Regions from separate parts of the Homo sapiens genome. Here regions 1 and 3 are each linked to region 2. The links are contacts of gene promoters, found by promoter capture Hi-C in blood cells and fetal thymus (Javierre and others, 2016). All regions are on one chromosome and are shown on one strand. Each heading gives the region's core, a stretch centred on a gene start or on the middle of the fragment in contact. The rest is flanking DNA. Distances are from core to core; before and after follow the strand shown. Region 1 holds the start of OR2A2 (olfactory receptor family 2 subfamily A member 2). Region 2 holds the start of TAS2R60 (taste 2 receptor member 60). Region 3 holds the start of TRPV6 (transient receptor potential cation channel subfamily V member 6).

What was found. Contacts are between HindIII fragments. The CHiCAGO score rates a contact against its expected background, and 5 or more counts as called.
Region 1: a contact is called between the fragment with the promoter of OR2A2 here and the fragment with the promoter of TAS2R60 in region 2, in 10 of 17 cell types (naive B cells, activated CD4 T cells, total CD4 T cells and 7 more). The highest score is 18.9, in naive B cells.
Region 3: a contact is called between the fragment with the promoter of TRPV6 here and the fragment with the promoter of TAS2R60 in region 2, in 10 of 17 cell types (neutrophils, total CD4 T cells, monocytes and 7 more). The highest score is 12.7, in neutrophils.

Annotation. Positions count from the first base shown.
Region 1 is chr7:144,107,584-144,111,308 of GRCh38, forward strand. It overlaps OR2A2 (olfactory receptor family 2 subfamily A member 2), which reads left to right and starts at 2,000. Exons shown (of 1, transcript NM_001005480.2): 1 at 2,000-2,956. The coding sequence starts at 2,000. The coding sequence ends at 2,956. The HindIII fragment of the contact is 1,147 bases long and covers 1,010-2,156 here.
Region 2 is chr7:143,442,192-143,446,267 of GRCh38, forward strand. TAS2R60 (taste 2 receptor member 60) reads left to right here and starts at 1,262. Exons shown (of 1, transcript NM_177437.1): 1 at 1,262-2,218. The coding sequence starts at 1,262. The coding sequence ends at 2,218. The region is part of intron 2 of EPHA1-AS1 (EPHA1 antisense RNA 1); the gene reads left to right. The HindIII fragment of the contact is 8,585 bases long and covers 1-4,076 here.
Region 3 is chr7:142,884,056-142,888,048 of GRCh38, forward strand. It overlaps TRPV6 (transient receptor potential cation channel subfamily V member 6), which reads right to left and starts at 1,690. Exons shown (of 15, transcript NM_018646.6): 1 at 1,334-1,690. The coding sequence starts at 1,581. The HindIII fragment of the contact is 18,692 bases long and covers 1-3,993 here.

The sequences.
Region 1 (3,725 bases), core at 750-3,249, 670 kb after region 2:
ACCTGACTCTGCTTGAGAGAGACCTTTCCTGACCATCTCATCTAAAGGAGTCTTCCTCAAACCAAGCAACTTTCTATTATTTTACCCAGATTATTTTTTTACTGTTCTTTTCACAGTCAGCAATTATTTACTCATTTACTCCTGGTGTTTTAGTGGTAGTAACTAACCATTCCCTCTCTCTGCTCCAGAAAAAAATCAGTTAAGAAATGCACACAAGAATCAGATATAATTTTAAAATATATATATTTTATATATTTTGCTAGTAAGGCTTATTGAAAAGCATGGTTCATATCTTCAAAAAAATTTCTCTCCAAATTAAAATCATAACCATTAGCTGACACCTCTCCCGACCTCCAAATGGGAAGAAACATGTTCCTGATGCCTTATGCTAAAGGGGGTGGAAATTCGTGTGGGTGAAACAGAGAAGGGGTATCCTTAGTTTCTCTTTCTGGTTCACAATCATATAAATTAGGGGACAGAGAAAAGCAGGTATATTCCAAGACAATTTCATCCAGGGGCATAACAATTTCCTCCTCTAAATGGGAATGTGAGGAGTTGAAGAGAACACTGCCTTAACTTCACTTCTTCATGACCTGGTCCCCTTCTGAATGCATCTACCTCCACCACTGTGCCTCCTGCGCTTAGAACAGTGGCTAAAACAGATCATGCACTCCAGGATCGTTTGTTAAAGGATGGATGAAGTACAAATTGACACTGGATAATATTGTTCTCTTATCGAATTAGCAAAGGTTGAAAATAAAAATACATGGTTGTGATGACCATGTGGGAAAGAGGCATGATTCTGAGGTACACATCAGTGATATATTATATTGGTATAAAATAATAGAATTTATATAGATAAAAATTAGTAGAATTTGTATTGGTAAATTTTCTGAAGCAAAGCTGGAAATAGATATCAAAAGCTTTGAAATTTCAATATATTTAGCACCTGCAAATTCACTTTTAGAATACATTCTCAATTAAAAATCATCAATATAAGCCAAACATAAGCTTGTAAGAATATTTATCTCAATGCTACCAAACATAAGAGAAATAGAAACCAAAAATTTCTGACAAGAAAAATGATTCAATAAATTATAATAAAAAGGATATTGTACTGCTTTTATATATTATTATATATTTGTATATTGCCTTTTTATTTTTTGTATATTATATATTTACTATTTTGATTTACAGACTTGAAACTATTTTCCTACATTTTCTTCCATTTTAATTCTTTCACGTGTGACTAAATTTTAGCATCAAGTGCTGATGAAGAATTAAATAAAATACTTGAAATAGAACTACAAACCCTAGAGATGGAAAATAGGTACCAGAGGTGCTTCCAGGGAGTATGGGCCAGTGGCTGAAAAAATGACGGTTGTAGGAAGTTTTAAAGAAATTACAAAGTTGAAAAGCTATTTACAAAAGATTTTCAATCTTAAATATGAAAGTAGAATTCATGTGAGAAGGTAAATGGGTTGCTAAGCAAGAATATGAAGAACAGAATGCCCTAACCACTTCATACTGGGTAGAAAAACTCAAGCATGCCCAGGATATAAAACCATCTTGTATTGCAGCATTTTGTCAGTGTCATCTCTAATTTCACTATGTTAATAACTAAGGATTCCACCCTATAAAAGAAGCAGAGTACCTGAATTCTCCTAAATGACACGTGTTTCCATGCATGTATGTGTATACAGTAATACAAGATATATTATATTACACCTTATGTTAATTTTTTTTTTATATAAGAAGTATTATAGCTATACTTTTTTTCCGATTACTCTGTTGGTAGAAGAGGATTTTTTTAATTTCATGAGCATAATTGAGTTGGTTCCAGTAACATATTTGAAAACAAATTCAACAAAGAATCCATTCAAAATAATACATTTCTTAATGCTCCCTCTGAAACACTCAGCAAATATTGTGCATCTTTGACCCACAGCTCTGACCTTCCTGTCCTAGATGAGGGTTTGTCTTTCTCTGCCACAAGAGCATGGAAGGCAACCAGACATGGATCACAGACATCACCCTGCTGGGATTCCAGGTTGGTCCAGCACTGGCGATTCTCCTCTGTGGACTCTTCTCTGTCTTCTATACACTCACCCTGCTGGGGAATGGGGTCATCTTTGGGATTATCTGCCTGGACTCTAAGCTTCACACACCCATGTACTTCTTCCTCTCACACCTGGCCATCATTGACATGTCCTATGCTTCCAACAATGTTCCCAAGATGTTGGCAAACCTAATGAACCAGAAAAGAACCATCTCCTTTGTTCCATGCATAATGCAGACTTTTTTGTATTTGGCTTTTGCTGTTACAGAGTGCCTGATTTTGGTGGTGATGTCCTATGATAGGTATGTGGCCATCTGCCACCCTTTCCAGTACACTGTCATCATGAGCTGGAGAGTGTGCACGATCCTGGTTCTCACGTCCTGGTCATGTGGGTTTGCCCTGTCCCTGGTACATGAAATTCTCCTTCTAAGGTTGCCCTTCTGTGGGCCCCGGGATGTGAACCACCTCTTCTGTGAAATTCTGTCTGTCCTCAAGCTGGCCTGTGCTGACACCTGGGTTAACCAAGTGGTCATATTTGCTACCTGTGTGTTTGTCTTAGTCGGGCCTCTTTCCTTGATTCTGGTCTCCTACATGCACATCCTCGGGGCCATCCTGAAGATCCAGACAAAGGAGGGCCGCATAAAGGCCTTCTCCACCTGCTCCTCCCACCTGTGTGTGGTTGGACTATTCTTTGGCATAGCCATGGTGGTTTACATGGTCCCAGACTCTAATCAACGAGAGGAGCAGGAGAAAATGCTGTCCCTGTTTCACAGTGTCTTTAATCCAATGCTGAACCCCCTGATCTACAGCCTGAGGAATGCTCAGTTGAAGGGCGCCCTCCACAGAGCACTCCAGAGGAAGAGGTCCATGAGAACGGTGTATGGGCTTTGCCTTTAAAACATGTGGTTTGCTGAAGCAAGAATTTTGAATATATTTTGTAGAAGAAGTTTAATATAAAAATGGTGAGTGATTGAATTCAAGCTTTGAAAATAGGGCAATATTCAATGGAATGTATGTTCTCTAAAATCGAGGAATCATCTCAGTAGATAGGAGAGCAAAATTATCAGAATATTTAGCCTTTCCTTTAAAAGTGTTAGAACATCTTTTTGCTTTTATTTTTATTTATTTACTTTTTATGTCACAGTGCCATTTTATATAATTTCCTGAAATAGGCAAAATGAAACTCTGATGTTAAAGGAGATAACAGCATTGTTTCATAATAGCTAAAACCTGAAAAGAATCCAAATATCTATCAACAGGGAGAAGTTGAGTAACTTGTATATTCACACAGCAGAATACTAAGTAACAAAGAAAATGAATGAACCTCAACATACAGTAACATGGATGAATATTACAAACACAAAATCTGGAGTGATACAGATCTGGAGTGATACAAAATCTGGAGTGATAGAAGCCAGACACAAAAGGATGTATGATTCCACGCGTACATAAATTTCAAACATAGGCAATAACTAAACTATAACGTTAAAGCTAGGATATTAGACATCATTAGGATGAAGGGAGTAGATAGTGACTGGGAGGGGTAGGAAGGCAGCTGGGTAATGGCCATTTACTGATAATCCCTTGCACTATACATTTATGCTTTGTGTACATTTCTCTTGTGTACATTTTAAAAATAATTTCTACATTTATTTTAGATTCAGGT
Region 2 (4,076 bases), core at 12-2,511:
TATGCAGAGGTTTATAATTTCCAATATATTTACCATATTTATGGTCATATTTATTTGTGACCCATATTTTTTATAGGTGAAGAAAGGGGGGTGTTCAGAGAGGTTAACTGCTTGAGGATCCGTAGTGATTGTGACAAGACTCAAAACTTGGGCTTCTGAGTTCAGCTAGGGATGAAGAAGATGGAGGTGTAACATGTATTGCTAACCATGGCAGAGATTCCTGGTCCTGGAATCAGTTTGGATCTTGGTCTTTCCTCTGTGTAACTGTGACTTTAGGTGGGAGTTGTAATATATAATTTGGGGTCTTATTTCTTTTATCTGTAAGATTATCTTTCATGTCTTCTTTCATTCTAAGCCGAGATTCTAAGACATCTTTGTGAATTAGAACATAGGATACTTTTCATATTTTACAGATGGACAAAATGAGGCGCAGAGGGGCTGACATATCCAGCAACTCACAGTAAGGGGTAAAGTTTGGACTAAAGGCTGTCTCGACTCCTAGCACAGGGCTCATTCTGCCATATCCCATTGGCTTATCGCTACTGGGGGTTCCTCTGTGAAGTGCTATTTTAGAGGCCACCAGTTATCAAATATATATTTTTAAATTTTGAAAAAAGTTGCCTGCCTCATTATGTATAATTGTCTCCAGTGTTCTTTTTTTATGATGATGGTCACTGTGAGTAATAAGACTTGAATTAATCCTTCTCTGTAAAGGTTTGCTCAGTTTTCTCTCTGTCTCAGTTAAAGGGGTCTTGCCATACTACTCCCCGCATAGAGTTGTTGTGAGAACTAAGGAGAGCACTCAGAACAATGCCTGCAACATAACAATCACCCCCCCCCCGTGGATGTGAGCGCTGTCTCAGTAGCGGGTGTGCCCCACGGATGATACTACTGAGCTGGCAGGTGCATGGTCCTGTCATAGGTGTCCGCTTAGAGAAGTATAACCTCCTGTGTAAGGACACTAAATGCCAGGGCCTGATATATTATCCACTTTGATGTTGACATGGGCAGAGAATAGGCAGAAGAGCAGGCAAATTTTTGGGCAGGTATGGGGACTTTGAAAATTGAGCCTTGACAATATTTGCATCTACTCTGAGAAGAAAAAACCTCTCACCCTCCTCTGATAGCCTGCGTCCTCTACTCTGGCCTAGCTTCTGCGCTTGGGGCAGCTGGAGGGACAAACATATCCTACAGGACCTTCCAGAGCAACCCAACAGAGATAGCCCTTGAAGTTTTGGGACCCATCTTGTCCACCAGAGAGATGAATGGAGACCACATGGTTCTAGGATCTTCGGTGACTGACAAGAAGGCCATCATCTTGGTTACCATTTTACTCCTTTTACGCCTGGTAGCAATAGCAGGCAATGGCTTCATCACTGCTGCTCTGGGCGTGGAGTGGGTGCTACGGAGAATGTTGTTGCCTTGTGATAAGTTATTGGTTAGCCTAGGGGCCTCTCGCTTCTGTCTGCAGTCAGTGGTAATGGGTAAGACCATTTATGTTTTCTTGCATCCGATGGCCTTCCCATACAACCCTGTACTGCAGTTTCTAGCTTTCCAGTGGGACTTCCTGAATGCTGCCACCTTATGGTCCTCTACCTGGCTCAGTGTCTTCTATTGTGTGAAAATTGCTACCTTCACCCACCCTGTCTTCTTCTGGCTAAAGCACAAGTTGTCTGGGTGGCTACCATGGATGCTCTTCAGCTCTGTAGGGCTCTCCAGCTTCACCACCATTCTATTTTTCATAGGCAACCACAGAATGTATCAGAACTATTTAAGGAACCATCTACAACCTTGGAATGTCACTGGCGATAGCATACGGAGCTACTGTGAGAAATTCTATCTCTTCCCTCTAAAAATGATTACTTGGACAATGCCCACTGCTGTCTTTTTCATTTGCATGATTTTGCTCATCACATCTCTGGGAAGACACAGGAAGAAGGCTCTCCTTACAACCTCAGGATTCCGAGAGCCCAGTGTGCAGGCACACATAAAGGCTCTGCTGGCTCTCCTCTCTTTTGCCATGCTCTTCATCTCATATTTCCTGTCACTGGTGTTCAGTGCTGCAGGTATTTTTCCACCTCTGGACTTTAAATTCTGGGTGTGGGAGTCAGTGATTTATCTGTGTGCAGCAGTTCACCCCATCATTCTGCTCTTCAGCAACTGCAGGCTGAGAGCTGTGCTGAAGAGTCGTCGTTCCTCAAGGTGTGGGACACCTTGAGCCACAGCTGATGAAAAACTTCAAGGAGATTCTTGTGGAGAAGGCATGGACTCAAAGGGACATAGCTTCTCTCTTTGCCACATTGAATGTTTTCTCTCTGTTGCTACAGTTAATGATTAGAAAAATAACTTCAATGAAATAGGATACAAGGTGAGAGTAAAGGTCCTGAAATATGGGCTAGTGTCATGTTATGTACTCACCAAGTGCATAGTTCATGTGGCCATGGTTCCTGTGGGACCTGATGTGGTCAAAGAATCCAGAAGCCTTTATTTTTCCTGTGATCGATCTCTTCGTATTTAAAATAATCATTCTGGGAACTGGATGCAAAGATCCTCAAACTTCATGCAATATTTTATCTGTTCAATCGAACTGGGGCATGTTTTTGGAACTGCAGTTTTCTCAGGCTTTGTCCTGTGAACCACCTTTCCCTTCTCATCAATTCAAAGTTTTCTGGCCATCTAATGTGGTGCCTCTCTCCTTCTTTCCATGGAAGAGTTTCTGGTGTCTAAACCTTCTACACAGAGCATAGTGTAATTGGTGCATGTGTGTGGCAGTGTGTGTTGCCAGGGATGTGTGTATTCTCCGATGACCTTTGGAGATCCCTCTGAGTGCCAGGGGTCTATGATTTGTATGTGGTTCATGTTCTCTATAATAGCCCAGCCTGTTAGTCTCCTCTGTATTTGTTAAGGTCTGTGGGTTCAGATGTAACTTCTTTTGATTGATATTGGGACCTATTGTAATTCCCCTACTGACATGGGGAAGTTTATCTGTATCTGTCTAAGACCTAAGATTTAAGAAGAAAAAGCCTTTGTGTTTGGTGAACCATGTTCAGACTGCCTTTCTGCTTTTCCCAGCTCCTCTCAAACGTTCTTTAAGTTCAGTTACTCCCTGAATCATTCAAACGAGACAACCCTCAAGTTTCCTCCATTCACTTTAAAATCTCTCCGCCTCCTTTCCTGGTTTTTACCTCCACCACACTCTACATTAGAGGACTGGTCTCTGTTTTTGGCTTTTCAAGGCTGACATCTGTGATCCTAGCCCTGCTCCTGCCTGTTTTCTCTCTGCTGCTAGGTCAAGGATTTCTACTTCTACACAAATCTTCCAACTTTCCCTCTTTATTGTCCTTCCCTTCTTCAACAAATGTGCCTCTAAACTTTTTTCCTGAAAACAATCCCCTTATCTGTCTCGCTCCTCCCCCTCCCTGTACCCCTGTGCTGCCAATGAGTCACTTGCAGGGTCTTCCCGTGTGCCTTCCAATCCTCTCCTGCTTCCCTGTTCTGCTGAAACATGTTTGTTTCTACAGGGACACACACGATCTCTTTGTCACTAAATGTGATATTGTCCCCAGCCCTTATCCTCCCATGTCTCTGTTGTATTTGCCTCTGTTGATAACAAATGATTTCCTTAAAATAAACTGATGAAAAATATTTTTACAAAAGTACTGCTGATCTTGGTGAAAGATTTTTTTAAAAGGGAAACTAAACCTCACCCATAATTGCCCATCTGCGCATCTTTCTAAAAGTTGTTCTCTTGGCGACGGATGCTAGGATCTTCTTCCAGTTCCCATCGCTTCTTTTTGTGTCCCCTTCACTAACCACTCATCCTCCTGCCTCTTGGTTCTGTCCTTAGCCAGCCCTCTTCTTCCTTTGAGATGATATCTGATCTCTTTCCTTTGTGTTTAAATCTACTCACATAGCTTCAATTATGCCCTTCATGTTGATAATTACCAAAGCCTTGACCTTTCTCTAAACTCCAATCCTATATTTTCTTCCACTAATTGGACATTACCACCTGATAGTACCATGAGCAAATTTAGCAAGTTCAAAGTATTTCCTTCTTCTTTATTTCCTCCTCCTCC
Region 3 (3,993 bases), core at 440-2,939, 560 kb before region 2:
TTTTGCACTCTGTGCCTGGATCCCCTGGCCCTGGGGTCCTAAGAGTGGGAAGAGGATGAGTGAAGCCAGTGAGGACGACCTACTCTCTAACAACAATGCCATTCTGTTGCCCCAAGATGTCATCAGCCAAACATGTGCTCCAGTCCCCACTCTCCCAGGCCTTGGGGGAGAGGTGGGCGGCTGGAGAGATGGGAAGCCATAATTCACAGAAAGAGACCATCCCCAACCCAGAATCCTTCAGCAAAAGAAAACACAGGGGCCTCCAGGCAGCCTCCCCGGTCAGGCTAAAGCAGGCTCCTACTCTTGGGGTCAGAGAAAAACCCTAAGGCACAAAGACTTCAGGCTTTCCTCTATGACCAGACATCTGCCTCCTTCGTGACCCAGGGAAAGCCCCAACAGGCAGGACTTCCTTCTAGCATGCCACCAACTGGGTAGAGAACTCTATTAGAGACCTTGAAGAAGAGACCACATGCAGGGATAGCCCTGAGTTCCGATTCCCTGCTCCTCTCCTGCTCTGTACTCCAAGCTGTCATGGTGAAGAAAGCAGGACACGGGTTTAGGAAGTTTTCAGGGGCTGGAAGCCACCAGTGAATGTCCTTAGGGCTTAAACGCTAGAGTCTCGATTTCCACCACCTGAATGCGGAAGAGCACAGGTCCTCGGAACATCTGTTATTTTGACCCGCTTCCCCTCAGTCCCCACCCGCACTGAGAGAGAAATACACCTCAAGGTTGGGTTTGAGCGTTGTAGGTCTTCATATCCCCCCAGTGCTGGGCAAATAGTAAGGCCTTGGTCAGTGTCTGATGAGACAGATACATAGGAATGGTCACTTTTTTCACATTTTGTCTTATTTTCTGGTTCCTGGTGTCCGCGGTTCTCTCTGCTTCATTCATTCAATCGTTCACTCATTCCTCCATGCGAACATATGTATACTATGTGTTCCTGCCAGAGAGACTGTTCTAGAGGCAAGCAGTGGAGATACAGAAGGCATTGTCCTCACCTGCCGTCCCCTCTTGGGTGGAGGGGCTGTGATGCTCTATCCTTACAAGCCCCAGCAAGACGCCTGGCCCTTAGAGAAGTACTCACAAGAGGCTTGCAGAATCGAATTAGATCTTAAGATAGTGAACACCTGTGCCCATCTCAACCCCATCCTCTTTCACCAGCCCTACAGGCTGAGGCTCTTAAGACAGAATGCTCCCAAGGAGCCAGTCCGGGCCTGGGAGCACCATCTGTCCAGCCAAAGGTGCCAAACAAAGACGGGAGGTGAGGGAGGGGTGAGGGGTAGAGGTGCAGGCCTGGGGAGGTGGGGAAGGGAGCAGACCAAGGGGGCCTTACCTCTTCTGCTGCAGCAGGTTCTGCTCATCTCGGCTCTGGGCCCAGGACTCCCGTCTCTGGAACCATCTGCAGAACTTGCTCCATAGGCAGAGAATTAGCCCTTTCTCCTTGGGCAGTGACAAACCCATGGGGTGTAGGGCCGGCTCCTTGGGGGCCTGAGGCCGAGGCCAGACCCTGACGGGACTCAGCCTTGGGGCCACATCAGCCCCCCCAAGGGCCGGCCCACCGTCTCCCTGTAGAGGTCCCGTCTCCTGTCTCCTGCCTTCCTGACGAGTTCCTTGGGAGTCTCCCAGCAGCCCCAGCCAGTTTGGAGAGGGCTGTGAGTTTGTTACACTTGGCAGAGCCAGCCAGGACTCTGCAGGGCTGGCCTGTCTGGAGCTCCTGCTGGGAGTGAGCAGGAGGAGCCAAAGCTGCACGGACACGCCCTCCCTCCTCCCAAATTACCTGAGATTTAAAGACACAGGCCAGCCACAGACCTGCCTACCAAGGGGGACTTGTGCCAACTCCAATTCTTTCTCCACCCAGGGCTCTCTCCCTGCCCCCAGGCCAGTCACAACCAGGGAGGCCTTCAGAAAGACTGGCGAGGCCTCCCTTGGACGTCAGAACACCCAGTGACCTACCCTGAGAGACTCTAGGCAGTGAGAAAGGAGGGGAGGAGTCAGGGCAGGCCCATTCCCAATGTTGAGGACTCCCAGGAGGGAGCGCCCCACTTTCCCACAGTGCCTCTTCTGCCGACCACCTGCCTCACTCTCTGCCTCCCCCTGCTTATGTCCTGGAGAATTCCATTTTCTGGACTCTTCCAGTTTCATTCTTGCCAGGCCTGAAATAGGTATATAAATTGCGAAGATACTCAGTTCTCCCAGACTTTCCTCTCAGTCCCCATCACCTTTGGGTCAGCAAACTTTTTCTGGAAGGGCTGATAGGAAATGTAAAGATGTTAGGTTTTGCAAGCCATGTACACTCTCTAATGTACGTTATTCTTTGGTTTTGTTTTGGTGGTTGTTTTCTAACCACCCCCAAAGATGTAAAATGCATTCTTCGCTCACCAGCCAGGGCACAAAATCTAGCTCTGGGCAGACCCCCTGCTCAGGAGCTCCACAGACTGTCCACAATGCCCCGTGCATGGGGTGGGTGCCCGATAAAATACAGGACACGTGGTCAAATTTGAATTTTAGATAAACAACAAAGAATTTTTTAGTATAAATATACCCCACGTTTTGCAAGTATTCTATCTGCCAGCCTTCCCGTGGAGGTGACATTCAGCTGCTACTGTGTGCTGGGCCTTTTAACTGAGCGTTCCCAGGTAAACTCGTAACAAACCTGCAAGGCAGGTATTATTATCTACATTGTATTGATGGGAGAAACCAAAGCTCACCATGGTAAAGGAACTCTCCCAAGGCCATAGAGGTGGCAGAGGCAAGATTCACACCCATCCCTCATTCCAAGCCCACTTCTTTCTCCCTAGCACACCTCCTCATTCTAACTGGCCAACAGAGCTTCAGAGAGGTTAAGTGACTCGCACAGTCATACAGAAGAATGATGGCATTAAGCATGGCCCATCGTCTTCCCACAACAAAGAGCTCCATCATGAGCTTGCTGGAAGCTGTCGGAAAGGTCATTTAGTTCAACTTTTCCACTGGAAAGGGGCAGAAGCCCGGGCTTATCCAACCTCCTGGTGCCAGCCAGGTGCCAATAGCCTAGGGGCAGGTGTCTGGGTGTTCAGAGTCACAGGTGTGTGGATCACTTCCTAGCTTCAGAGTCTGTTTTGTCCTAACTTTCTCTGACTCAGAGTTGGAAGACCCAGCCAGGGGAGTGTGTGTGTGGCGTGTGTATGGCGTGTGTGCCCATGTGCATTTGTGTGTGGTGTTTATGCGTGTGTTCATGATGTGCATCGGTGGGGTGTTTTGTGTGTGGTATGCTGTATGTATATGATGTGCCTGTGGTGTGTTTGGTATGTGTCTACGTGTGTATGATATATGTGATATGTGTAGGTATGGCCTGTAGAGCGTGTGGATGTGGTGTCTGTGATGGTATGTGTGACATGTGTGTTGTGTATATACGTATTGTGGAAAGATTGTTGCATGTGTGTTGTGTGTATGGTGTGTAGTGGGTGATGTATATGGTACCTTTAAGGTATGTGTGCGTGTACATGATGTGTGTGTGTGTGTGTGGTGTATACATGATTTGTGTAGTGTATGGTGGGTTTACTATGTGTGTATGTATGGTGTGTGTTGTGTGTGTATGTATGTCATGGGGTGTGTGTCATATGTGCTGTGTGTGGGGGGAGTCGGTGTGTGGAGGGAGGTGGATGCTGAGGTAGGGCAGGGGAGAGAAGGACCCCTTCAAGTGGAAAGCTATTTGTGTTCCTGCCGCTGGGCAGAGGCCAGGCCACGCAGTCCTGAGCAAACAGTTCAATTGGATTAGCTTCGTCCCCACCCACCTGGGTCAGTGGGTTCGGGCTGGGTTGGGGGAAGGTGCTAGAACCCAAACCTTGAACCCCAAGACCTTTGTGCCCATTAAGCCAGTGGTTTGTCGCTTCAAAGACCTATTTAGCTTCAAAGACCCCAGTTTAGTGTCTGGTGGGGAAGGAGAGAAAGCAATGAGGCCTTCGTTACGCTGGGGAGAGAGGCTGGGGGAGGGAGGCTTTGGGAGGGAGACTT